Linked DNA regions of Homo sapiens: regions 1, 2, 3, 5, 6 and 7 are each linked to region 4. The links are contacts of gene promoters, found by promoter capture Hi-C in blood cells and fetal thymus (Javierre and others, 2016). All regions are on one chromosome and are shown on one strand. Each heading gives the region's core, a stretch centred on a gene start or on the middle of the fragment in contact. The rest is flanking DNA. Distances are from core to core; before and after follow the strand shown.

Region 1 (3,498 bases), core at 285-2,784, 880 kb after region 4:
GGGTGGCTGAAGGGGGTTGCCTGGACACGGTGTTTCACATTCCTGGAGTCCCAGGGGACTTATATTCAGAGTGGATGCCTAAGATTCCATGACCATGTGGATGTGTGAGCGTGGGAATGCGGCATAGTCCAATCAGGGATTAACCATATGGACAGGCACCTTCCTGGACTCCAAAGTAAGAAGTGTGCTGTGGTGTGTGTGTGTGTGTGTGTGTGTGTGTGTGTGTGTGTGTGTGTTGGGAGACTGAGCTCACCTTAGAAAGGGATTTCCAGGAGGACCTAGTCTAGGGTCTCTCAGATCAGGGAAGCCCCATCTCCAACACTTGAGAAGCTACGCCATCCCCTGACTCCCGAAGCGCCCCCCACTCTGAACCCTGAGGGGCGGGACAGGGCGCCCAGCCAGATGCGCGCAGCTGGGCGTGCGTCAGCGCTGACTCACCCATCCGGCGGCCCCCGGGACCCCTTGGGGGCTCCTGAGAAATTCCTCGGGAAAAACACCCAAGGCTCCAGCAGCTGGGGTGGGGAGGGGGGGAGCAACTTCCACTCCTGCCCCGCCCTGCGCCCCGCCCCGTCTCGCCCCTCACCGCGGCCCTCCCCGAAGCCCTGTCCATGGTGCTGATCGCGGCTCTGGGGACCGCGGGGTGGGGGAGGGGGCAACAGGGAGGGAGGGGAGGAGATGGGCGCTCGCCAATTTGGGGCAGAGGAGGAAAAGGGAGAATGAGGTGAAGCCATTTAAAGAGACGCAAAGGAAACTGTGGGTTCCCGAAGAGCACCCCCCAATACTTGTCCCCACCCACCTTCATCCTCATGGGCAATTATTTGCACCCAAAAATCATAACTACACCCCTCATAGCGGCACTCAGAGACACACAATCACACGCATAACCACTCACACGGTTACCCTCGAAAATCAGCACATAGACAAGAGCACAAGTGCATACTCACCTGTCGCAATACACACCGTCCCAGCACTGCCCTGTCACTCACAGTCACACTATCACCATCAACCTCCACACGCAAGCACATACGCAACTTCACTCCAAATGCACACACATGCTACACACACATACACACATGCACACACCTGCACATTGCATGCATTCCCACGCGCTCGCCAGAAAACGCACTCACACATCCCCACCCCCACCCCGAGCTGTCACACCCACAAATCACCCAGAGTCAGATACTCATGCGCCCACATCACACCGGGGCCGCACGCGGCGCCCACGCCCTTCCCCTCCACGCCCCTCCACCCCCCTCCACCCCTCGCTCTTTTAGAGCCTCTCTGAGTCGTGGACCCTGGGTCCCATCTCTTCCCTCCCGGCTCACCGGCCTGCGTCCCCGGCAGAAGCTGCAGCGCGGCCAGGAGCAGGCAGAGACCGGCCCGCGGCTGGCCCAGGTCCCGGCGGTTCCCCATCCCGGCGGGGCCCACGGGCAAGGCGGGGAACCAGTCGGGGCGGCTGCGGGGCGCGGCGACTTCTCGGGCTCGGTGCAGTCACTCGCGGCGGCCGCTCCTCTCAGGGTCCGCGGGAAACTGCCCGAGACCCCGCCCTGGCCTCGCCCTGCGCTCCAGCGCCTGGCCAGGCGGGGCTTTTTGGAGGGGGAGCGCTGACAGCTGGACTGGGAAGTTGGGAAACTTTGTGCTGAGGGCTGATTGGCTGGCTGGGGTGGAGCCCAGCGCCAGGAGCTGGGTTGTTCCTGCCCCACCCCACTGTGGAGGAGAAGGGTCACTCCCACCCAGCCCTAGAGTTCGAGGGTTCCAGTCTTACCCCAAACCTTTTCCGCCTAGCAGATCCCCTCAAAGGAGACCTTAACCTCATTCAAGACTTCAGCCTCCATCCAGGCCCTAGAATTAGGAGGAGGTGCAGCTTTATACCAAATCTTTTTTATTTTCTATTATTTTTACATTTTATTTTGGAGACAGGGTCTTGATCTGTCACCCAAGCTGGAGTGCAGTGGTGCAATCATAGCTCACTGCAGCCTCCAACTCCTGCGTTCAAGCCATCCACCTGCCTCAGCCTCCTGAGAAGCAGGTACCACAGGCACACACTGCCACACCCAGCTAATTTTAAAATATGTATATTTTGTAGAGACCGGGATCTTGCTATGCTGCCCAGGCCGGTCTTGAACTTCTGGTCTCAAGCGATCCTCCGGCCTTGCCCTCCCAAAGCGCTGGAGTTACAGGCATGAGCCACCGCCCCTGGCACCAAGTCCTTTCTGCCTCACTCAGGCCCCCAACTGGGGTCCCAACCTCACCCCGAACTCTCACTCACCTACCTGCTTTATCCTCAGTCCCTCAGCTGCACAATAGGAGGTACCAGCCTCAGCCCCAAAGCCTTTCCTTCAAGTCCCTAACGGGTCCTCATCCCACCTCAAATCTCACCCCAGATCCCAAAATGGGGTCCCCAGCCTTACTCCAAACCTTCATCTGTCCACTCAAATCCCTAAGTCACGTGTCCTGGTCCCAAATTCTCACCACAGATCCCAAAACACAGTTTTCACTTTCCCCAAATTCTTGATTCCTCAAATAAAGGGTCTCATCTCCATCCCTAACCCTCATCTCCCCCCGCCCCAACTCAGGTCTCCAGTGGATGCCCCGGCCTCAATCCCAAATCCCCACCAAATGAGGGAGTCTGAGCTGGGTGCGGTGGCTCATGCCTGTAATCCCAGCATTTTGAGAGGCTGGGGCGGGCAGATCGCTTGAGTCCAGGAGTTAGAGATCAGCTGGCCAACATGGCGAAACCCCATCTCTACTAAAAATACAAAAATTAGCCAGGCATTGTGACTGGCGCCTGTAGTCCCAGCTACTTGGGAGGCTGAGGTGGGAGGATCACTTGAACACGGGAGGTGGAGGTTGCAGTGAGCTGAGGTTGTGCCACTGCGATCCAGCCTGGACAACAGAGCAAGACTCTGTCTGTCTCAAAAAAAAAGGCCGGCGCGTTGGTGGGAGGTGGTGGGAATCTGTCCCTGTCGCAAAGCAACGCACAGCCACTGGGGAGGAAGGGGTGGATTCTTGCCATTCTTGGGATGAGGCAGAGGCCCCCCTCACCGTGCTGGGACCCCCACCTCCAGCATGAAGAGGCCCCCATGAGGTCAAATAGAGCTTTTATGCAATTGGACAAGCGCAGACACGCAGGATGTGAGGGTGTTTCCCCAGGGAGGGGAGGAACCAAGAGGCGTATTCTGAGCCCTGAACTGCTCCCCGAACCCTGCTTCCCCCACCTCCGCCCCAGGGGAAGAGGGAGACGCAAGCAGTGCCTCCCTCCCAGCCTCTGACTCCCCAGACAAAGAGTCTCTGTGTCCCTGAAGAGGAGGGGTTGGGGCCCCATCAAGCCTGAGGGGGAGATGGGGGCCCCCCAGGGTGGGAGGAGGAGAGGGTATCTCTGTAAGCTGTGCCTCCTCCCACCCCAGGGACATCTGAGGCTGAGACTTCTCCAACTAAAAGACTCTCACAAAATTCCTGCCCTGCCCTGCCTTGCTGGAAGTTCTTCCTATAGTC
Region 2 (3,376 bases), core at 42-2,541, 700 kb after region 4:
AGAGCGAGACTCCATAAATAAATAAATAAATAAATAAATAAAATTAAAAAAAAAACAGTAAAAATCCCACGGCCGGGGAAATCAGGACCAAACCAGTAAGGAGCAGCTCTTTAGGCATAAGCACGCGCATTAAAGACAAAAAGTATCCTTAACATGATAAGGATAACCAGCTCATTAGCGCTCATGCATATGGACGGCATATCATGAATGGAGGCGGCTCTCAAGCACACAGGGGCCAAAGTAAGCAACACACCTATCATTCAAAAAGGTAGACACTGGCTAGATATTAGGCAGCCTTGGGAAGAGAAAAAAAGCCTGGCCAATAAGGTGAAACCCCATCTCTACTAAAAGTACAAAAATTAGCCGGGCGTGGTGGCGGGCGCCTGTAATCCCAGCTACTTACTCGGGAGGCTGAGGCAGGAGAATCGCTTGAACCCGGAAGGCGGAGGTTGCGGTGAGCCGGCACCGCGCCATTGCACTCCAGCCTGTGCAACAGAGCGAGACTACGTCTCAGAAAAAAAAAAAAAAAAAGACCCAAACTATACCAAGCTGGGGCTGATCTTATCTCGCAGAGGTCAGTCCGCTCTCCCCACTCCGAGAGTGGAATACTGTGCTTAATAAACTTGCAGCTTTGCCATCTCTGTGTGTCTGGTCCAAATCTTTCTTCAGGACACCAAGAGCCTGGAACTGTCCGGCACCATGCGGTAACAGCAGCTGTTGGGCAGCGTAGAGTCTACTCTAGGATCAAGCTTCGCCTACTGACTGGAGTCCGTATCCCGGGGGAACGCGATGGCCAGAGGGAAGAGGTGAGCCAAATGCTCACCAAGCCCAGCCCTGAATGAACCCAGGGGGTCAGAAGGGATGACTGCAGAACTCGTCCCCCACCCCCACCCTCCGCCCTTGCTCCTAGTTGCCGCTGCAAGAGGCTTCGGGCTCAGGATCAGGAGCTTACCCCTACTCCCGGGACCCTCTGGCGTCCCCACCATGTGACCGAGTCTCCCTGCAACAAACAATGACTTCAAACGAGCTGGGCGCCGGCGCCTGACCTCTGACTCTCGCTCCACGCCCCTTCCCTGGCCACAAACCCGCCGAGGCCCCCCTCTCTACCCGGCGCGCCTACCACAGGCGCGACACCTGTCAAGCCTTGGGACACCGAAACCGTACCTGGGAACAGCAAACACACCACAGACTGCAGACCCGGAAGAACTTGTCCCAGTGTTGACCACACCCCCTGGCTAGGGGCAGGGCTTCCGGCCTCGAACTTTAACTTCCGCTTCCGGTTCCTAGCGTTAACTGCGACCGGGGTTCAGCGCTCGGGTGAGGAGCTGGTGGCGTCGGCAGGTTCGAGGCGATTCGAGGTGAGGGGGTCAAGCGGAGAGGCTCGGAGTCGGAGAAAGCTGTCGCGACCCAGCCACCCAGGGTCTGGGGTCGGTGGGAGGTGAGGCCAGGGAGTTTTGTGGCAGGGCTTTCAGGCGGCGAGAAGGGGCGGAGGCGCGGCTCCCCGGGGTTCGCGGCCCTGGGACAGGGGACTTGGGGCCTGGGAGTATTCGAGTCCGGGGGGTTGGGGGCAGAACGGAAGGCTCAGTAACCTGGAATTTTAGGGCCTGGGACTGGGAGACTTGTAGGCTGGGGCTTCTGGGCCTGGGAGACGCCTGAAGCTCTGACTTTGCTGCCTCCCACCCACCCCCCGCTTTGTGTAGCTCCAGCTAGGATGATCGAGGTTGTTTGCAACGACCGTCTGGGGAAGAAGGTCCGCGTTAAATGCAAGTATCCACTGGCAGCCGAGAGGCAGTGGTACCCGCAGGGGTGCTTGGCGTGAGGCAGGCAACTCAATCTGTGTTGTCGGATGGTTTTAGTTAAACCCGGGAGAGGGGGCGGATGGGGTCCTGGCAGATGGTATTCTGCCCTAGAATGTCCTCTTCCTCGTTCTACCGCTTCCATTTGCCTTAACTGCTCTGCGCCCAGCACGGATGATACCATCGGGGACCTTAAGAAGCTGATTGCAGCCCAAACTGGTACCCGTTGGAACAAGATTGTCCTGAAGAAGTGGTGAGTGCAGCGGTAGAGCCACTGGGTGGACTGGACTAGGCCGGAAGGTTTTGGTTGGGGGAGCGCTGCAGGCAGCCCTTTGCTTAGGCTTGGCTACCTCATTTGGCCTACAGACTGAAGAGCCTCCTTAGCCTTATCTCTGAAATGTCTCTTTTTCTTAGGTACACGATTTTTAAGGACCACGTGTCTCTGGGGGACTGTATCCTTTGTGTGACTTTTTGAGGAAGCATCTACATACCCAGCCTCGGTTATCTGTTCAAAACTAAAGTCTGCATGAGCTTATGCATATTAAGTGTTTAACTTAATACGTGGCACATGGTGAGCACTTAGAAAATGGGAGCTAGGTAATTATTTGGTTGGGGAGGAGAGTGGTTGGTGAAATAGTTTGACTTCAAGTTCAAAATATTTATTACTGACCTCCACCTGAGTGCTGGACAGTAGGTCAGGGTGGGGTGAGACTCAGGCATATCTATTGTGCAAAAGGAGCAGAAACTTTTTACAATTTTTATTTTATTTATTTATTTTTTTGAGACAGTCTGGCTCTGTCGCCCAGGCTGGAGTGCAGTGGCACGATCTTGACCCACTGCAACCTCCACCTCCCGGGTTCAAGCAATTCTGCCTCAGCTTCCCAAGTAGCTGGGATTACAGGTGTGTGCCACCACTCCCTGCTAGTTTTTGTATTTTTAGTAGAGATGAGGTTCCACCATGTATGCCAGGCTAGTCTCAAACTCCTGGCCTCAAGTGATCCTCCCGCCTCGGCCTCCCAAAGTGCTGGGATTATAGCCGTGAGCCACTGTGCCTGGCCTAGAAGGAACAGAAACTTTTTTTTTTTTTTTTGAGATGGAGTTTTGCTCTTGTTGCCCAGGCTGGAGTGCAGTGGTACAATCTTGGCTCACTGCAGCCTCTACCTCCCAGGTTTAAGCGATTTTCCTGTCTCAGCCTTCCAAGTAGCTGGGATTACAGGTGCCCACCACCACACCCAGCTAACTTTTTGTATTTTTAGTAGAGACAGGGTTTCATCGTGTTGGCCAGGCTGGTCTCAAACTCCTGACGTCAAGTGAGCCACCTGCTTCGTCCTCTCAAAGTGCTGGGATTACAGGTGTGAGCCACTGCACCCAGCCAGAAATTCTTTTGTAAAGTTTTGGTTCTCTCCAAATAAAAATGGCCTGGTCCAAAATGGGCTTCCTTAGCCCTGGGCTGAGACCTCAGGCCACCTGACCCGGCTGTGAATGGATGAGAGGGGTGGGGACGGAAGTCAGAGTCAGGATTCCTTAACACCTTTCCTTCAGATGAAATCCACGATGGGATGAACCTGGAGCTTTATTAT
Region 3 (3,506 bases), core at 574-3,073, 750 kb after region 4:
CTGGCCAACATTTTTGGTTTTTTAAGAGACAGGGTCTCAAGCAGTTGTCCAGGCTGGAGTGCAGGGGCATGATCATAGCTCACTGCATCTTCAGCCTCCTAGGCTCAAGCAGTTCTCTTGCTTCAGCCTCCGGAGTAGCTGAGACCACAGGTGTGTGCCACCACACCCTGATACTTTTTTTATTTTTATTTTTGTTTTGAGATAGGGTCTTGCTCTGTCCCCCAGGCCGTGTCCCACATTGGTGTGATCATGGCTCACTGCAGCCTCAACCTCCCAGACTCGAGCAATCCTCCCACCTTAGCCTCCCAAGTAGCTGGGACTACCGATGTACACTATCATGCCCAGCTAATTTTTTTTTTTTTTTTTTTTTTTTTTTTTTTTTTTGTAGAGACAGGATCTCACTATGTTTCCCAAGCTAGTCTCGAACTCCTGACCTCAAGCGATCTTCCCATCTTGGTCTCCCAAAGCGCTGAAATTACAGGTGTGGGCCACCATGCCTACCTAATCAACTTTTACTTTTGGAATTATTTTAGGTTTACAGAAAAGTTACAACAATAATACAGAGAGCTCCTGTGTACCTCTCATCCTGACTTCCCTGTTATTACATCTTACATAACCATGATACACTTGTCACAACTAAGAAATCAACATCCGTGCATCCATTACTATTAACTAAACTCTAGACTTTATTCAAATTCCCCAGTTTTCCCACTTGAGTGCTTTTTCTGTTCCAGAATCTAATGCAGGATCCCACGTTACACTCAGTGGTTATCACATGTCTTTAGACTTATCTGGTCTATGACGTTTCTGTCTTGTTTTTTCTGACCTTGACAGTTTTGAGGATTACTGGCCAGGGAGTTTTGGAGAATGCCCCACTGGCCTTTTTTTTTTTTTTTTTAAGAGAGATGGGGGTCTCACTATGTTGCCCAGGCTAGACTCAAACTCCTGACCTTAAGTGACCCTCCCACCTAAGCCTCCCAAAGTGGTGGCATTACAGACATAAGCCATCATGCCCAGCCACCACCGGCTTTTATTTTATTTATTTATTTTTGAGATAGAGTCTCCCTCTGTCGCCCAGGCTGGGGTGCAGTGGAGCCATCTCGGCTCACTGCAACCTCTACCTCCTGGGTTCAAGCGATTCTCCTGCCTCAGCCTCCCAAGTAGCTGGGACTACAGGTGTGCACCACCATGCCTGGCTAACTTTTCTATTTTTAGTAGAGATGGGGTTTCACCATGTTGGCCAGGCTGGTCTCAAATTGCTGACCTCAAGTGATCCACCCACCCTGGCCTCCCAAAGTGCTGGGATTACAGGCATGAGCCACCGCACCCAGTCTTTTATTTTATTTTTTAGAGACAAGGTCTTGCTGTGTTGCCCAGACTGGTCTTGAACTCCTGAGCTCAAGTAATCCTCCTGCCTCGGCCTCACAAAGTGCTGGGATTACAGGCATGAGACACTGCACCCGTCCCCTAATGGCTTTTGAGGGCAGGAACTGTGGCCTCACTTTGCTGGACGTTTCCCCAGCCTGTAACCCAATGCAGTAGCTGCTTCAGACGCTTCCTAAATGAACAAATATTGAATGGCCATCACTGAGAGCTTTATCTTCCTGTGCTCCCTGTTCCGCAGGCATCCCTGCCAGAGGCTAGATCTAGAAGAGTTCACGGCGAAATAAAAGCTTTTCTCCTTTCAGAAAGATTTGTTTTTGATCCTTTCTTTGTAGACATCAAGGATTCATTTCTTTAATATTTAAGGGCTTTTGTACCAAAGAGAAGCAGCCGCATTTGCATCAGTCTCATTTTTTCAAGGCAGGCGAGAGAGATCTTTCTAGCAAGATGGGGTTTCTTCCTTCACGGAGCTGTCACTTGATTTATCTGCTTCTCCTTCCCCAGCCTTCATGCCTCTGGCAGGGGGCAGGGAAGAGCGAGGGTTCTGGAATGATCCACAGACTCTGATGTCCTCTCTGCCACAGCCCAAGGAAGCTTAATTAGAACCTCGCCAATTTGCTGGGACTGAGGTGGCCTTAGGAGCTGGTGCAGGGGCCTGGCCGGGGATGAAGATGAATTAGCAGCTTTTTTTTTTTTTTGAGACAGGCTGGAGTGCAGTGGCACGATCACGACTCACTGCAGCTTCGACTTCCCTGGCTCAGGTGATCCTCCCACCTCAGCCTCCCGGGTAGCTGGGACCACAGGCACTTACCAGCACATCTGGTTGTTTGTTGTTGTTGTTTTTCTTTTGTTTTTTGTTTGTTTTTTCTCACAGAGACAGGGTATCGCCCTGTCTCAAACTCCTGAGCTCAAGCAATCCTCCCACCTCGGCCTCCCCAAGGTGCTGGGATTACAGGTATGAGCCACTGCACCTGGCCTGAATTAGCAGTTTTATTTCCTGTCCCTCTGAATAGCTCAATAGCTACCACGGGGACCAAAAGCCTGCCTTGGGTACACAGAGCATGTCCCTTTTCTAACATTAGCTGGTCAGAAGTGGGAATCCCTTTAGCCATGCAGGCCTGCAGGTCTCACTGCTTTTTATTTCTCAGCCCCAGGAGGCCAAGCTGAAGGCAGAGAATCTAAAGAAGCTGTCTTCAGCGAGGTCATCTCCCCGCCACCGAGGTCCCTACTGCTGGGAGACACTGGCCCCAATTTAATCTCTTGCCTGAAGTTTTTCAGACGTAAAAATGAGCCTGGGTGAGCTTTTCAGATAGTTCCTTCAACTTACAGGAATTCAATTTCTGGCCTGGATATAAATTTGCAGCCATCAGCGCCCGTGGTAGGGGCTGGGGCTGGGCGCTTTGGCCGGGGATGGATTTCTGAAATCAATCCGTCCGCGTGTGGAAAAGGTCGCCATGGGGGACATTTAACTTCCATGGCTGGCTGAGGCATTTCACACCGATAGCCAGGGACACCCCTATACAAAATGGAAGTGTTTGCTGCGAGTCCCCCAGGCAGCGGCTGGAGGGAGGCCTCGAAGGCTGGACAGCACAGCCAGGAGGTGACATTGATCAACCTGCCAATAACAGACAGCCAGGTACCAGGACTCCTGAAAACCCACCTCCAAGGGCTCTTTCCTGCTAGGTCCCCATGCGCCCCTGCGGGTGGCAAGTCCACTCTGGGTCCAAACCCTTTATCCCTTGGCTACACCTCCAACACACATTCCAGGGTTTCAAAGAAATGAGTCTCAAATGCATTCAATTCCCCCAGTGGAGGTGGGAGGACGTGGTCATTAAGGGTCTCCTAGGTTCGAGCCTCAGGTCTGCCGTGTGACCTTGGGCTACTGACTTAACCATCCTGTGCCTCCGTTCCCCCAGTTAGAGTATATAGCTAAGAATAGTACTGATGTCATGAGGTGGTTGTTAATATATCAGAATGGCTTAACGTAATGTTATGGTTTGAATGTGTCCCCGCAAAATTCATGTGTTGGAAACGTAATCCATTTTATTTATTTATTTATTTAAAGTGAAAGCAAGTTTATTAGAGAAGTAAAGAAACAGAAGAATAGCTACTTCAGAGGCTGG
Region 4 (3,565 bases), core at 567-3,066:
TCAAAATAATCCATTGTATATTTCAAAATACCTAGAAGAGAACAATTGGAATGGTTGGAGCATAAAGATAAGACAAATATTTAAGGTGATGGATATCTAAAGTAACAAATCCTTGCAGATTATACAAATGTATTACACTATCACATGCATCCTGAAACAATGTACATCTCTTATGCATTGATACAAAAATTTAAAAAAAGCCAGGTGTGGTGGCATGCACCTGCAGTCTCAGCTACTCGTCAGGCTGAGTCCAGAGGATCGCTTTAGCCCAGGAATTCGAGGCAGCAGTGAGCTGTGATCACACCACTGCACTCCAGCCTGGGCAACAAAGTGAGAGACTGTCTCAAAAATCAATTAGTCAGTCAATCAATCCAAAAAGAACTCAAGTCCACGTGGTCCGATTCCAAAACTATCACCCTGAACCATCTGATCTCTGGTCTCATGTATTCAAAGACATTGGTCAGGTGGGGCACAGTGGCTCATGCCTGTAATCCCAGCACTTTGGGAGGCTGAGACGGGCAGATCACCTGAGGTCAGGAGTTCGAGACCATCCTGGCCAATGTGGTGAAACCCCGTCTCTATTAAAAATAGAAAAATTAGCTGGGCTTGGTGGCACGTGCCTGTAATCCCAGCTACTCCGGAGGCTGAAGCAGGAGAATCGCTTGAACCCAGGAGGCGGAGGTTGCAGTGAGCCAAGATTGCGTCACTACACTCCAGTCTGGTCAACAGAGCGAGACTCCATCTCAAAAAACAAACAAACAAACAAAAACAAAAACAAAAACAGAAAACCCCAAAGACATTAGTCAGGCTTTCAAGACTTCTCATTACTTCTTTCTCCCTGACATATCCCAGCAGTGTAAGCCCAAGAAGCTGAGACATCAATGGAAAGATGGTATCCTAGATATTAGTTTCCTCAAAGCCTTCAACATGTCCTTGTTTCTCAGGCTGTAAATGAGTGGGTTCAGCATGGGGGTGACCACGGTATACATCACTGATGCTATTGCACCCTTCCTGGAGGAGTGGGTAGCCCCAGAACTAAGGTACACCCCAAACCCTGTTCCATAAAACAAGGAAACAACGATTAAATGTGACCCGCAGATGGAAAAAGCTTTATACTTTCCACCAGCTGATGGAATTTTCATGACAGAGGAGACAATTCGTGTGTAAGAGAAAATGATCCCAGAGAGAGGAACAACACCTAACAGGCTGGTCACCAAATACACCAGGATGTTATTGATGAGGACATCAGAACAGGCGAGCTTGAGAATATGAGCTAGTTCACAGAAAAAGTGGGGAATTTCCAGGTCTATGCAGAAGGTCAGCTGTAGCACCATCAACGTGTGCAGCAGAGCATCCAGGACACTAACGATGAAGGACAGCAGAAGCAGCAGCCCACAGAGTTTGGGGTTCATGATGACATTGTACCTCAGTGGGTGACAGATGGCCACAAATCGATCATAGGCCATCATGACCAGAATTCCATTTTCCAATCCAACAAAAACCAGGACAAAGCAGATTTGGGTGAGGCAGCCTGTGTAATTGATGGATTGAGCCTGTGCCTGGATGTTCACCAGCATCTTGGGCATCGTGGTGGAGGTGAAACAGATGTCGACCAAGGACAGGATAGAGAGGAGGAAGTACATGGGGGTGTGGAGGTGGGAGTCAGAGTTGACGGCCAGGATGATGAGCAGGTTCCCCAGCATTGTGGCCAGGTACATGGACAGGAACAGCATGAAGAGGATGGGCTGCAGCTCCGGATCCCCTGACAATCCCAAGAGAAAGAATTCTGGAGTGTCTGAGAAGTTTCCTGCTTTCATGTTGTTGATGAGTCTTGATCTTGTCAATATTATCAAAACCAAACCAGTTATAAGTTATAGACCTTTTTTCCTTCCTTCCTTCCTTCTTTCTTTCTTTCTTCCTTCCTTCCTTCCTTTCTTTTTCTTTCTTTCTTTCTTTCTTTCTTTCTCTCTCTCCCTCTCTCTCTTTCTCTTTCTCTCTCTTTCTTTCTTTCTCTCTCTCCCTCCGTCTTTCTTTCTTTCTCTTTCTTTCTTTCTTCTTACTTTCTTTTTCTTTCCCTCCCTCCCTCTCTCCCTCCTCTTTCTTTTTCTCTTTCTCTTTCTTTCTTTTCTCTTTCCTTCTTTCTTTCTTTCTCCTTTTTCTTTCTTTCTTCCTTTCCTTTCTTTCTCTTTCTTTCTCTCTCTCCCTCCCTCCTTCCCTCCCTCTCTCCCTCCTCTTTTTCTCCTTCCTTCCTTCCCTCCTTCCCCCCTCTCTTTCTTTCTCTCTCTTTTCCTTCCTTCCTTCCTTTCTCTCTCTCTCTCTCTTTCTTTCCTTCCTTCCTTCCTTCCTCCCTTCCTTCCCTCCTTCTTTCTTTCCTTCTTTCTTCTTTGCAGGGTCTCTCTCTCTCTGTCATCCATGCTGGAGTGCAGTGGCATGATCATAGCTCACTGTAGCCTCATCCCCCTGGGCTCAAGCAATCCTCCTCTCTCAGCCTCCCAAATAGCTGGGATGACAGGCATGAACCCCCATGCCCAGCCTGTTCTTTACTTCCTTCCTAGGTACCCTATCAGTGTCTTTCTCACCCACCAATTTCCCTTTCTCATTACAGTTTGTGAAAATAAAAATTAAGCCCTCTTTATCTAGCAGCATAAGCCCCTCCCACTATTTTTATTTGCCTTCATCTGTCTTTCATTTGTATCACAGATAATGTTAATAAAGAAAATTTTAACAGTAAGCCATGCATCAGACCCTCTTTCCATTATTTTTTTCTTTTCTTTTTTTTTTTGAGATGGAGTCTCGCTCTGCTACCCAGGCTGGAGTGCAGTGGTGGGATCTCAGCTCACTGCAACCTCTTCCTCCAGGGTTTGAGTGATCCTCCTGCCTCAGCCTCCCAAGTAGCTGGAACTACAGGTGTGTGCCAACACACCTGGCTGATTTTTATACTTTTAACAGAGATAGGGTTTCACCATGTTGGCCAGGCTGGTCTTGAACTCCTGACTTGAAGTGATCCACCCGCCTCAGCCTCCTAAAGTGCTGGGATTACAGGCTTGAGCCACTGCACCCACTCTTCCTATTATTACTGGTGCAGCCCCTGGTTCAGGCAACCCCTGAGCCTTGGCACTGATTCCTGGAGGAGTCCTGTGTGAGTCAGCGCCAAACCTTTCCTGTTCCTTCTGGCTTATCCAGATTCTTGAGAAATTGATTCTGGGGCCCCCAAAGCAGGAAGTAAAGAATTGATGTATGCCGGCAATGTCAAAACATCAGCCTGCTGTTCTCATAAACCCATAAGTTAAGGAAATTCTGTAATGATGACTCAGGAGTTGGGGCAAACATATTATAGAATCACAGCATGTGAACAGTTGAATGGTGCAGTGAGCCCATCTCAGCCCTTTGCTTCACAAATTGAGTTCCTGGCCAGACACAGCGGCTCACACCTATAATCCCAGCACTTTGGGAGGCTGAGGCAGAAGGGTCGCTTGAGGCCAGGAGTTTGAGACCAGCCTGAACAAAGTAGCAAGACCCATCTATAGTAAACATTTTTTAAAAATTAAATTAAATTAAAAATTAG
Region 5 (3,511 bases), core at 964-3,463, 550 kb after region 4:
CTCTTGCCTCAGCCTCCGGAGTAGCTGTGTAAGATACAATATATTTCTCTGAATTTCTCTTCAAAAGTTCAGCCTGTAAACTTCCTTGTTCTTTGTTCTCAAACTCAACTTTCCTGTTCTCCATGCCTCCTTGCCTCTAGTTACTGTAAACAACCTTCCCATCAGCTCTAATCAATAACTCACATCTGTTCCCTTGGCTACTCATTCTGCAGCTATTCCACTCTTTGAAACTGCACATCCCACCATCATGACTCACACATCCCCCTACCCTTCCTTATTTGGGGAAAATATTCACAGATAGCCAATAGGGTCAGTTTAGATTCTGCGGTCTGACCCTAACCCACGGGGGAGAGACACAGAAGTAGGGACCCAGCGTTAGAAATAAAAACCCCTTCCCCTCCCTTATCTGGTGTACTCTCGCCATCACTCCATCCACGAGACTCACCCTTCTATAGAAATAAATTGCGTTGCTGAGAAAACTTTTGCCTGAGTGCTGGTTTCACTTTGCAGCACCCAGCGTTTTATTTTTTTATCTCCAACAGCTGGGATTACAGGGGCCCACCACCAAGCCCGGCTAATTTTTGTATTTTTAGTAGAGACAGGGTTTTACCATGTTGGCTAGGCTAGTCTGGATCTCCTGACCTCAGGTGATCCGCCTGCCTCTGCCTCCCAAAGTGCTGTGATTACAGGTGTGAGCCAGTGCATCTGGCCTGGCTTTAAGTAGAAAGGCTTGCAGCTGGTAACAATTAGAAAAAAAATAACCTGCAAGAAAATAAAAATTAAAAACTAAAGGCTTAGTCTACACGCGTTCATATTTACATACAAAAACGGGCACACCCTAAACAACTATGTTTTTTCCATCTGAATGTAATGTGTCAAAAATAAGTGGCGGGTGGATCACTTGAGGTCAGGAGTTCGAGACCAGCCTGGCCAACATGGTGAAACCCCATCTCTACCAAAAATATAAAAAATTAGCCAGGTGTGGTGGTGCACGCCTGGAATCCCAGCTACTCGGGAGGCTGAGGCAGGTGAATCATGTTATAAAGTTTTCATGCCACAAAAAAAAAGCACTCAAATATAACATTTTCTTTTCTCAGCAAGGCAATTTACTTCTACAGAAGGGTGTGCCCTCACAGATGGAGCAATGGTGAGCACACACCAGGACAAGGGAGGGGAAGGGGTTCTTATTCTTGAGGAAAGTGGCCCCTGCCGCTTTGTCCTTCCCCGATGGCTAGGGTTAGACCCCACAGGCTAAACTAATTCCAATTGGCTAATTTAAAGAGAGTGACAGGGTGAGTGGTTTGTTGGGGAAAATGGTTATAACAGAGCAGGAAATTGGAATGAGTCAGGGTGGAAAATGAGTCAGGGTGGAGTAAGTAATCGAAATAAGTCTGGGTGGAGCAGGTAATCAGAATGAGTCAGGGTGGAGCAGGTGATCGAAAAAGGTTGCTTTACGGAGAAGTTTAAAAGTAGAAGGCAAAGAATTAAACATACTGACATATTGATTTTTTAAAAAGAAATTTAAAACTCATATCTAACAATCACTTGAACCCGGGAGGTGAAAGTTGCAGTGAGCCAACATCGTGCCACTGCACTCCAGCGTGGGCGACAGAGTAAGACTCCAAATCAAAAAAAAAAAAAAAGTAAAGGACATCAAGACAACGCCAGATTCTCAGATGAGACATTTTTTAGCAAATAAATGGAAGTCACAGCCCTCTTGAAACCATTTTTCCGCCGTTGCTCACCAGGAACATGCCGGAAGAGATAGGTTCCAGACGCGGGAGAATGCGGGGCCAGAGCCAACCTCACCAGAAGGGCAGAAATCCTTTTCCTTTCGGAAAGAAAAAAACTCCCAAAGGTTGCTTTCCAAGCTTTTCAAGAGAGGAGCACAGCGGATGAAAGTACTCAAGAAAACACCCGGCGGAGGCGGAACAAACACACTTCCCGACGCAGCCAGACGGACTGTGCGGCCTCTCGGAACTGGCCAGAGGCCGCACCAGGAGGACTGACAGCCCCTAGAAAAGCGAGTGAAACTAGGCGGATCTGAGAGGCTCCTGGGCGACCACGCCCAATCCTTCCTTTGCCGCCCCGCTGGTATGTCCCGGACCCCCAAGCAGGTAGAACTCACCACAGCGGGGTGGACTCCACCACAATAAAGGTTAAACGGCACTGACCATGCTGAGCCACAGCCGGTAAAGATGGCGGTGGCACACTGACGTCACTTCCGCTCCGAGCCTCCGGCCGGGTGGGGCTCCAGGGCTTGAGTTTCAGGCACGTAGGACAAAGAAATTCTAGTTTCCTCCTGGGTGGGTGCCGGACAGTGCCTGGGGTTGGCTCAGGGAGCGGGATGCAGAAACGGGTTCAGAGAAAAAGATGAGTTTAGAACCGGACCTCTGGACGGAACCGTGGGCGAGGGGTGGGGCCCATATTTGGGGGCGGTTTAGAGGTGGGACCCGGCCTAGCCCGCGTTTCAGGTGCCCAGACGGGTTGGAAAGGCGGGGATGGGGGATGGGACGCACCCCAGAGGATGCTCCTCCAAAGCTTATCCTGGGCGGGCTCAGTGGCTCACGCCTGTAATTCCAGCACTTTGGGAGGCTAAGGCAGGTGGATAGCTTGAGTCCAAGAGTTCCAGACCAGCCTGAGTGAAATAGCAAGACCGTGTGTCTTTTTTTTTCTTTTCTTTTTTTTTTTTTTTTTTTTTTTGAGACAGAGTTTCACTCTTGTTGCCCAGGCCTGTGCCCGGCTCGACCCTGTCTCTATTAAAATATATATATAAGGCCAAGCGCCAGTGGTTCACGCCTGTAATCCCTGCACTTTGGGAAGCCAAGGCGGGCGGATCACCTGAGGTCGGGAGTTTGACACCAGCCTGGCCAACATGCTGAAACCCCGTCTCTACTAAAAATACAAAAAAATAGCTGGGTGTGGTGGCAGGCGCTTGTAATCCCAGCTACTCAGGAGGCTGAGGCAGGAGAATCGCTTGAACCCGGGAGGCGGAGGTTGCGGTGAGCCGAGGTTGCGCCACTGCACTCCAATCTGGGGGACAAGAGCGTGACTTCATCTCAAAAAGAAAAAATATATATATATGTGTGTGTGTGTGTGTGTGTGTGTGTGTGTGTGTGTGTGTCAAGCTTTTTTGTATGCCGCTCCTCATGTTCCTGGAGCCTTTCCATGATTCTTCCATATTAAACCTGCCAGTGATAGATGGCATGGTCTGTCTCTTCCATTCAGTCATTCTTTCTGTAGGCCTTTATTTTTTCTTTTTCTTTTTCTTTTTTTTTTTTTTTTGAGACGGAGTCTCTCTCTGTCCCCCAGGCTGGAGTGCAGTGGTGCAATCTCGGCTCACTGCAAGCTCCGCCTCCTGGGTTCACACCATTCTCCTGCCTAGCCTCCTAAGTAGCTGGGACTACAGGCGCCCGCGACCACAACCAGCTAATTTTTTTGTATTCTTAGTAGAGACGGGGTTTCACGGTGTTAGCCAAGATGATCCCCATCTCCTGACCTCATGATCCAC
Region 6 (3,627 bases), core at 1-2,500, 530 kb before region 4:
GATGTCCGGCTCACTGCCGGTCCCAGAGCAGAGAGCCCGGTGCTCCCTTCCTGGCTCGCGGTGGGTCTTCGTGCATCCCCTTGCGGGGCATGGCCTGTGACTTATACTCTCCCAATAAGCTCCATTTATGGAGCACTTTATACATGCCATATACCTCTTTAGGCAGTACTACCCCATCTTACTGGGAGAAAACCAAGCTTCAGACAGGTAAGGTCACACAGCTACTAAGGGAATAGCCTGGAGTTTAACCCAGCTCTTTAATTCAGAGTCTGTGCTCTAACGAACTTTGCAATTCAGTTCCTGGTGCCTTCTGAGTTTCTGGAAGGAAACGTGGGAACTGCTGAGGAATGAACAGGAAGGATTTGGGGTTCTTTTATGGGATGGGCAAAGTAGCCGAAGAGAAAGTGGTGGTTCTGAGAAATCGGCCTGGATGATGACTAGGCCAACGGCCTCATCTCTAGTTTTTTCCAGCTGTTGGTTCTCTTTGTTCCCCCATCTAAACTGGAGAAGCCCCCAACACTTTTAAGCTATGTGGAGGGGTGGGAGTTTGGGAGGGGACAATGCCGAGTTAGGTCTGTGTGGGACATGCCTCTCTTTCTCCAGGTGAAAAATCAGCCCCACCTTCTTCCCGTCTGAATCCTGGATGGGCTGAACTAGTCCCAGGGACTCACTCTGACTCTTAAAGTCCAGGTTAATATCCCTGGAGAAGCCCCAGTGAGTTCAGGTGAAGCAAAATCTCTGACCCTCTTGGCCCACATCCTAAGCAACCTCCCAGCGTCTTTCCTCTAAAAAGTAGGTGGTCCTCTCTGACCCTCTTGGCCCACATCCTAAGCAACCTCCCAGCGTCTTTCCTCTAAGAAGTAGGTGGTCCTTCTGTAATTATCAAGTGTAATCCCCGCTTTGAACCCAATTCTTGTAAGCTTTCCAGATGTGGGACTGGATCGATCAATGGCCACAGGAAAGGACCCTTCCTAGGTCAGCCCCTGAGAGATACCTGTACATATGTAAGAAGCTGGAAGAGTTGTTCTCAAATACATTCTCCCTCAAAGGTCCTCTAGAATCTCTGCCTTCTGCCTTATAGAGGACATTTCTCAGCTAAAAACTCAGACTGTGTCCTCTTGGCCATATCTAAAAATATCACATCAGTCCTGTCGCAATCCCACTTCTGACACCTCTTCAAGATAATGATTTCAGCTCTGCTTTTGTCCTCCTCTCCACAAGGAGGCACTGTGGCATATTTGAGTTGTGCAGAGACCTCAATTCTGCTACCAACTTGCAATATATTTCCCCTCTCTGGGCCTCAGTTTACTCATCTACAAGATGGGCAGCCTAATGCCTGTCTTGCCTATATAAATGGCTATGAGGCACGTGACAGGATAGATAAGAAAGGACTTGCACCAATGCCATTATGGGGTAACAATGACCACCACTATCTCTGGACCAGGCACCAGGCTGAACCCTTTACATATATTAACCAGTTCACATTTAGTAAATAAATCCCCCTTTGCCAAGATGGCCTGAAAGATGTTCCTTCAAAAACTAAAAGGAAGGCTCAATTCAACATATAGCCAGTGCCAGCCCAAGCTTGATATTTTGACAGCTCCTCCCCTCCCCTGCCCCTTTGTAAAATTTAGAGAGTCATGAGAGACCTGGATTTAAATCCCAGCTCTGTCATGGTCTCAAACTGTGGCCTTGGACAAGTCATCCTCCCTATGCTATGGCTCAGTCCCTTCCTCTGTAACGTGGGGGCTAGCAGGATTGTCAGGAGTTTAGATGGTGACACACAGCACATGCTTAGCCCATAGTGAGAGCTCAGTAAATGTCAGACACCATGATCATTGTTAGGATACCTGGGTCACAGCAGATGTTGAGGAGTAGCTTCAGAATTCTTTAGGAATTCCTTAGAGGGTGCTGCAGTTACCAGCTAAGTTAGGATGTTGGGGGGTGTCAAGGGTGGAATGTCAGTGAAATAGAAATTGTTCCAGGGTTTGTCTCTGTCTTGCAGTGGAATGAAGGGAGGGCAATTTGGCAGCTGCTTGCCCTCTGCTTTGCATTAACATGGCATCACAAAAACTCTGATCGTTTGAGTTGTGATAGTGTGAAGAACTGGGGCTGAACCTGGGCCCCTAGGGCTGAGACTGTGAGGAGCTTAGGGGTGCATTTAGGGAATCGAGGCAGGTGGGCAGAGGAGGAGCAGATCCTGGCTGAACCTTGGTGGCTGAAGCAGGAAGCCAGCAGGTCTTCAGCTTCCTGGGGGGAGCTGGGAGTGGAACCTCCTGCCCCCCAATGCCCTTCTCTATGCACGAATGGGGCTTTGGGAATCTAAACCTCAGGAAAGGGTGGGGAGAGGTCAGGAGGCTCAGAGCTCCTCCAGACAGGGAGTCCCTGGAAGGTTCTGTCTAGTTCTTTGCCAAGTAGGAAAGATGGCTCATCCCCAGGGAAATTATTTCCGTCAGGACTGGATGTTTAGTTAAAAACTGCCCCGTGAGAGGTCTTGAGACTTTGATCCTGCTGTAGCCCACAGGGGGTGTGATGTGCCAGACAGAAGCTGGCCCCCCAGCCCAGCCCTCAAATCAGGGGTCTGGAGAAGCAGGTGATCCCATTTTTGTTCCCAAGCACTGTCTGATTGCTTAGGACATTTTGCACACTCCATGCACCTCTGTCCTCCCAGGTCACCATGGGGGCTCACCTCACCCCCCTTCCCGGTTCTCCCACCCCCTCACTTCCCAGGTGGGTGCCCTGGTGGAGTTCCCTCCCCCAGCCCCAGCGGCCCCCTCCCCTCCCAGGAAGGAAAGCAGGAAGACTCTCTCTACCCCGTATTTACACTGACGCGATTTGACTCCATGCTGAAAGCGGCATTGCTCATCTGCATCGTAGGCTTGGCCCGGTGCCACTGTCGGGTACACAAAGTCCTGTCTGGGGGGCCGGTTGTTCAGGCAGAGCCCCAGGCCCGAGCTGCCTCGAGAGAAAAGCAACTGTCATGCTAGGTGGCTGCAAATCAAGAGCTCAGGAGCCTCAGCTGGATGGGGGTCCCAGGGAGCATCCCTGATTTCTATCGTCTCCCGTGTACCCTGCCCCACCATGAGTGTGACCCGCTCTGAGGGACACCCAGGTGCATCCTCACTCTAGAAAGCTGGTGATGTAGTCACGGCTGCAGGATGACCACACGAATGGGTTGGTCTTCATGGTAATGTGGGCAGCCATGAGCTTGGCTGGGTCCTGACCACGGGCCCCACAGCTGTTTCCCACGCCGTCATGGTTCATGCCGAATCTGGGGAAAGGGGTGTCGGCTCTGCCGGGCGCTGAGGGACCCGCCCAGCTCCTCCCCTCCTCCCCCTCTTGTGTGCCCTGGCCTCACGTGTGCCCGATCTCGTGGGCAATGGTGAACGCTGTGGCCAGGCCAATGTCCTCATTGACGCTGCAGCTTCTCTCGCGCTCACACATTCCGCCCACCGGGGCCAGGCCTGGGAAGACGGACATGTGGGGATGGGGCTGGGAGGCTCAGGACGGTGCTGGCTGGCCCCATCCACCTGCCAGGTCTCACCCCAGCCCACTGCCTTCATAGGCGCCTGAAACCTACGGGGCTCGGGTACCTAGTGTGCCGCAGGGTTTGTTCTTGTAGATGCA
Region 7 (3,368 bases), core at 124-2,623, 680 kb after region 4:
GAACAAATGAATGTATTTCTTTTCCTTTTTTTTTTTTTTTTTTTTTGAGACGGTGTCTCGCTCTGTCACCCAGGCTGGAGTGCAGTGGTGCCATCTCCGCTCACTGCAACCTCCGCCTCCCTGGTTCAAGCGATTCTCCTGCCTCAGCCTCCTGAGTAGCTGGGATAACTGGCGCGTGCCACCACACCCGGCTAATTTTGTATTTTTAGTAGAGACGGGGTTTCACCATCTTGGTTAGGCTGGTCTCGAACTCTGACCTCATGTGATCCGCCCACCTCGGCCTACCAAAGGGCTGGGATTACAGGCGTGAGCCACCGCGCCCGGCCAATATATTTCTTAAATGTATTTGATTGAAGTCTCATGTCTCCCTAAAATGTACAAAACCAACTGCACCCCAGTCACCTTGGGCACATGTTCTCCTGGCCTCCTGAGGGCTGTATCACCGGCCATGGTCACTCATATTTGGCTCAGAATGAATCTCTTAAAATATTTTACAGAGTTTGACGCTTTTCGTCGACATTGCTTAGGCTGGCATCGAATTCCTGGGCTCAAGCTGTAATTGCCGGAGGGTTCTTCCTGCCCACTGCATAAAGAAAGACAATGGCATTGTAGTAAAGGAAGAGTTTAGTGGACATGAGGCTGGCCATGCCACGTGGGAGTCGAAGTTCCTACTCAAATCATCTCAAAGCTCCTAGGTTAGGGGTTTTCCAAAGACAGTTTGGGGGAACGGGTGGGGATGGCAGAGTAACAGGTGCTTGCTGCTGATTGGTTGGGGCAGATGCAATCATAGGGGGGTCGAAGCCTTCCTCCTACAGGCTGAATCGATTTTGGGTGGGGCCATAGGAGCAGGGTTGACGGGTCCATGAGGAGTGTTAGGTGTCAGACATGCAATAAAACCTGAAAGGGTATCTCCAAAGGCCAATCTGGGGTTCTGCAATAGTGGTGTTATTTGCAGGAGTAATTGGGGAAGTTGCATATCTCATAACCTCTGGAATAGTGGCTGACATACATTTCTGCGCCTTTGCAGGAATCAGGCTCCTCTCCTGCTGATGGCTCCCCATTAGTTTTACCAAAGCGATTGAGTTTTAGGCAAAGCTTATTATCACCTAAACTATAGCCTAAATGTTTCTTAAAGTTACCTCAGCCCAATAGCCCAGGAAATATTAAGGGAAAGGGAAGATGGGGGGTGGATTGGCTCAGATCTCTTTCACTGTCATAATTTTCTGATATATATTTTTTTGAGACAGGGTCTCACTCTGTTACCCAGGCTAGAGTGCAGAGGTGCAATCACAGCTCACTGCAGCCTCGACCTCCCCAGGCTCAAATGACCTGCCCATTCTGGAGTTCATTCAGCCTCACAAAATGTTGGAATTACAGGCGTGAGCCACCTCGACTGTCCTGATTATTATTTTTGCAAAGGCAATGGTTGACAAAGAGTCAAACTCTGTAAAATATTTGAAGAGATTTATTCTGAGCCAAATATGAGTGACCATGGCCCACGACACAGCCCTCAGGATGTCCTGAGAACATGTGACAAAAGTGGTTGGGGTGCAGCTTGGTTTTATATATTTTAGGGAGACATGAGACATCAATCAAACACATTTAATAAATACATTGGCTTGGTCCAGAAAAGCAGGACAACTCAAAGCAGGAAGCTTCCACGCTATAGGTAAATTTAAACTTTTTTTTTTTTTTTTTTTTTGAGATGGAGTTTCGCTCTTGTTGCCCAGGCTGGAGTGCAATGGTGTGAACTCGGCTCACCGCAACCTCCGCCTCCCAGGTGCAGGCGATTCTCCTGCCTCAGCCTCCCGAGTAGCTGGGATTACAGACATGTGCCACCACGTCCGGCTAATTTTGTATTTTTAGTAGAGACGGGGTTTCTCCATGTTGGTCAGGCTGGTCTCGAACTCCCGACCTCAGGTGATCCGCCTGCCTCTGCCTCCCAGTGTTGGGATTACAGGCGTGAGCCACCGCGCTCGGCCATATGTGCAATTTATTACATGTTAATTATACCTCAGTGAAGCTGTAGGGGCTGGGCATGGTGAGTAGTTCACACCTGTAATCCCAGCACTTTGGGAGGCTGTGGCAGGCAGATCGCTTGAGCCCAAAACTTTGAGACCAGCCTGGGCAATATGGTGAGACCCCATCTCTACAAAAAAAGAAAAATTAGCTGGGCATGGTGGCATGTGCCTATAGTCCCAGGTACTTGTGTGGCTGAGAGGGTAAGGAACACTACAGCCCTGGAGGTCAAGGCTGAGATGAGCCATGATGCGCTCTGGCCTGGGCAACAAAGCAAGACCCTGTCTCGAAAAAAAATTTTTTCTTTTTTTCCTAAAGAATGTGTAGGCCAAGTTAACCCTCCAGACAGGTAAGAATGTGATATGTGTCATAGCCTGTAATTTATACAATAACATCAAGGCTGCTTTGGTCCAAGGGCAGGATCTATGGCGAGTATATGTTCTTACACAAGAACAGTAAATAAAGTAGAAATCCTGGCTGGGTGCAGTGGCTCATGCCTGTAATCCCGGCACTTTGGGAGGCCAAGGTGGGCGGATGGCTTGAGCCCAAGAGTTCAAGACCAGCCTGGGCAACATGACGAAACCCTATGTCTTAAAACAAAAAACAAAAAAAAACAAAAAACCACCAGGCATGGTAGTGTGCACCTGTAGTCTCAATTACTTGGGAGGCTGAGGTGGGAGGATTGCTTCAACCCAGGTGAGGGAGGTTACAGTGAGTCGAGATTGGGCCAGTGCACTCCAGCCTGAGGGACAGAATAAGACTCTGTCTCAAAAAAAAAAAAAAAAAAGTAGGTGGGGCACAGTGGCTCATGCCTGTAATCCCAGCACTTTGGGAGGCCAAGGTGGGTGGATCACCTGAGGTCAGGAGTTTGAGACCAGCCTGACCAACATGGTGATACCCCATTTCTATTAAATACAAAAAATTAGCTGGGTATGGTGGTGGGCACCTGTAATCCCAGCTACTCAGAAGGCTGTGGCAGGAATCTCTTGAACCTTGGGGGCAGAGGTTGCAGTGAGCTAAGATTGCACCATTGCACTCCAACCTGGGCTACAAAAACAAAAACTCCGTCTCAAAAAAAAAAAAAAATCTAGAAATGTTGGAGTTGTTCTCAGGACTTGGGTTAAGCAGAAGTCAAGATGGCAGTTGGCATCCAAGATGGAGTCATGATTGCCTTCACAGCCCCTAATAGGGCCCAGTTACTGGGCCTCCCTTCAGATACTATTGCATGGCAGCATGGCAGCTTTATATCCTGGGCAAGATTGTGGAGTAAAATTACTCAGGTTCTACTTTACCAGCTATGTTGCTTTGGGCAACTTAACTTCTCTGTGCCTCAGTGTCTTCATCTCTAC

What was found. The method cuts DNA at HindIII sites, captures the fragments that hold promoters and counts their contacts. A CHiCAGO score of 5 or more calls a contact.
Region 1: a contact is called between the fragment with the promoter of COL5A3 here and the fragment with the promoter of OR7G3 in region 4, in 1 of 17 cell types (total CD8 T cells). The highest score is 6.3, in total CD8 T cells.
Region 2: a contact is called between the fragment with the promoter of UBL5 here and the fragment with the promoter of OR7G3 in region 4, in 4 of 17 cell types (total B cells, neutrophils, M0 macrophages and 1 more). The highest score is 6.3, in total B cells.
Region 3: a fragment that was not itself captured here is called in contact with the fragment with the promoter of OR7G3 in region 4 in 3 of 17 cell types (erythroblasts, naive B cells and total B cells); the score reaches 8.2 in erythroblasts.
Region 5: the fragment with the promoter of ZNF562 here is called in contact with the fragment with the promoter of OR7G3 in region 4 in 1 of 17 cell types (naive B cells); the score reaches 6.7 in naive B cells.
Region 6: a fragment that was not itself captured here is called in contact with the fragment with the promoter of OR7G3 in region 4 in 1 of 17 cell types (M0 macrophages); the score reaches 5.3 in M0 macrophages.
Region 7: a fragment that was not itself captured here is called in contact with the fragment with the promoter of OR7G3 in region 4 in 5 of 17 cell types (total B cells, monocytes, naive B cells and 2 more); the score reaches 8.7 in total B cells.

Annotation. Positions count from the first base shown.
Region 1 is chr19:10,008,970-10,012,467 of GRCh38, forward strand. COL5A3 (collagen type V alpha 3 chain) reads right to left here and starts at 1,535. Exons shown (of 67, transcript NM_015719.4): 1 at 1,329-1,535. The coding sequence starts at 1,416. The HindIII fragment of the contact is 8,603 bases long and covers 1-3,498 here.
Region 2 is chr19:9,826,627-9,830,002 of GRCh38, forward strand. UBL5 (ubiquitin like 5) reads left to right here and starts at 1,292. Exons shown (of 5, transcript NM_001048241.3): 1 at 1,292-1,358; 2 at 1,701-1,767; 3 at 1,966-2,049; 4 at 2,211-2,248; 5 at 3,339-3,376. The coding sequence starts at 1,712. RefSeq lists enhancers at 874-1,598, 1,009-1,058 and a silencer at 1,102-1,408. The HindIII fragment of the contact is 5,434 bases long and covers 748-3,376 here.
Region 3 is chr19:9,873,448-9,876,953 of GRCh38, forward strand. The region is part of intron 1 of OLFM2 (olfactomedin 2); the gene reads right to left. Among named protein-coding and RNA genes, the nearest start is that of PIN1, 40 kb to the left of the region's middle. The HindIII fragment of the contact is 304 bases long and covers 1,672-1,975 here.
Region 4 is chr19:9,125,134-9,128,698 of GRCh38, forward strand. It overlaps OR7G3 (olfactory receptor family 7 subfamily G member 3), which reads right to left and starts at 1,817. Exons shown (of 1, transcript NM_001001958.1): 1 at 879-1,817. The coding sequence starts at 1,817. The coding sequence ends at 879. The HindIII fragment of the contact is 3,002 bases long and covers 1,107-3,565 here.
Region 5 is chr19:9,672,887-9,676,397 of GRCh38, forward strand. It overlaps ZNF562 (zinc finger protein 562), which reads right to left and starts at 2,214. Exons shown (of 6, transcript NM_001130031.2): 1 at 2,129-2,214. RefSeq lists enhancers at 1,183-2,382, 1,921-2,420, 2,099-2,158, 2,421-3,420. The HindIII fragment of the contact is 670 bases long and covers 1,870-2,539 here.
Region 6 is chr19:8,592,949-8,596,575 of GRCh38, forward strand. It overlaps ADAMTS10 (ADAM metallopeptidase with thrombospondin type 1 motif 10), which reads right to left. Exons shown (of 26, transcript NM_030957.4): 9 at 3,594-3,627; 10 at 3,359-3,464; 11 at 3,125-3,271; 12 at 2,814-2,955. Among named protein-coding and RNA genes, the nearest start is that of ADAMTS10, 16 kb to the right of the region's middle. The HindIII fragment of the contact is 664 bases long and covers 919-1,582 here.
Region 7 is chr19:9,802,880-9,806,247 of GRCh38, forward strand. No RefSeq gene overlaps it. Among named protein-coding and RNA genes, the nearest start is that of FBXL12, 15 kb to the right of the region's middle. The HindIII fragment of the contact is 560 bases long and covers 1,094-1,653 here.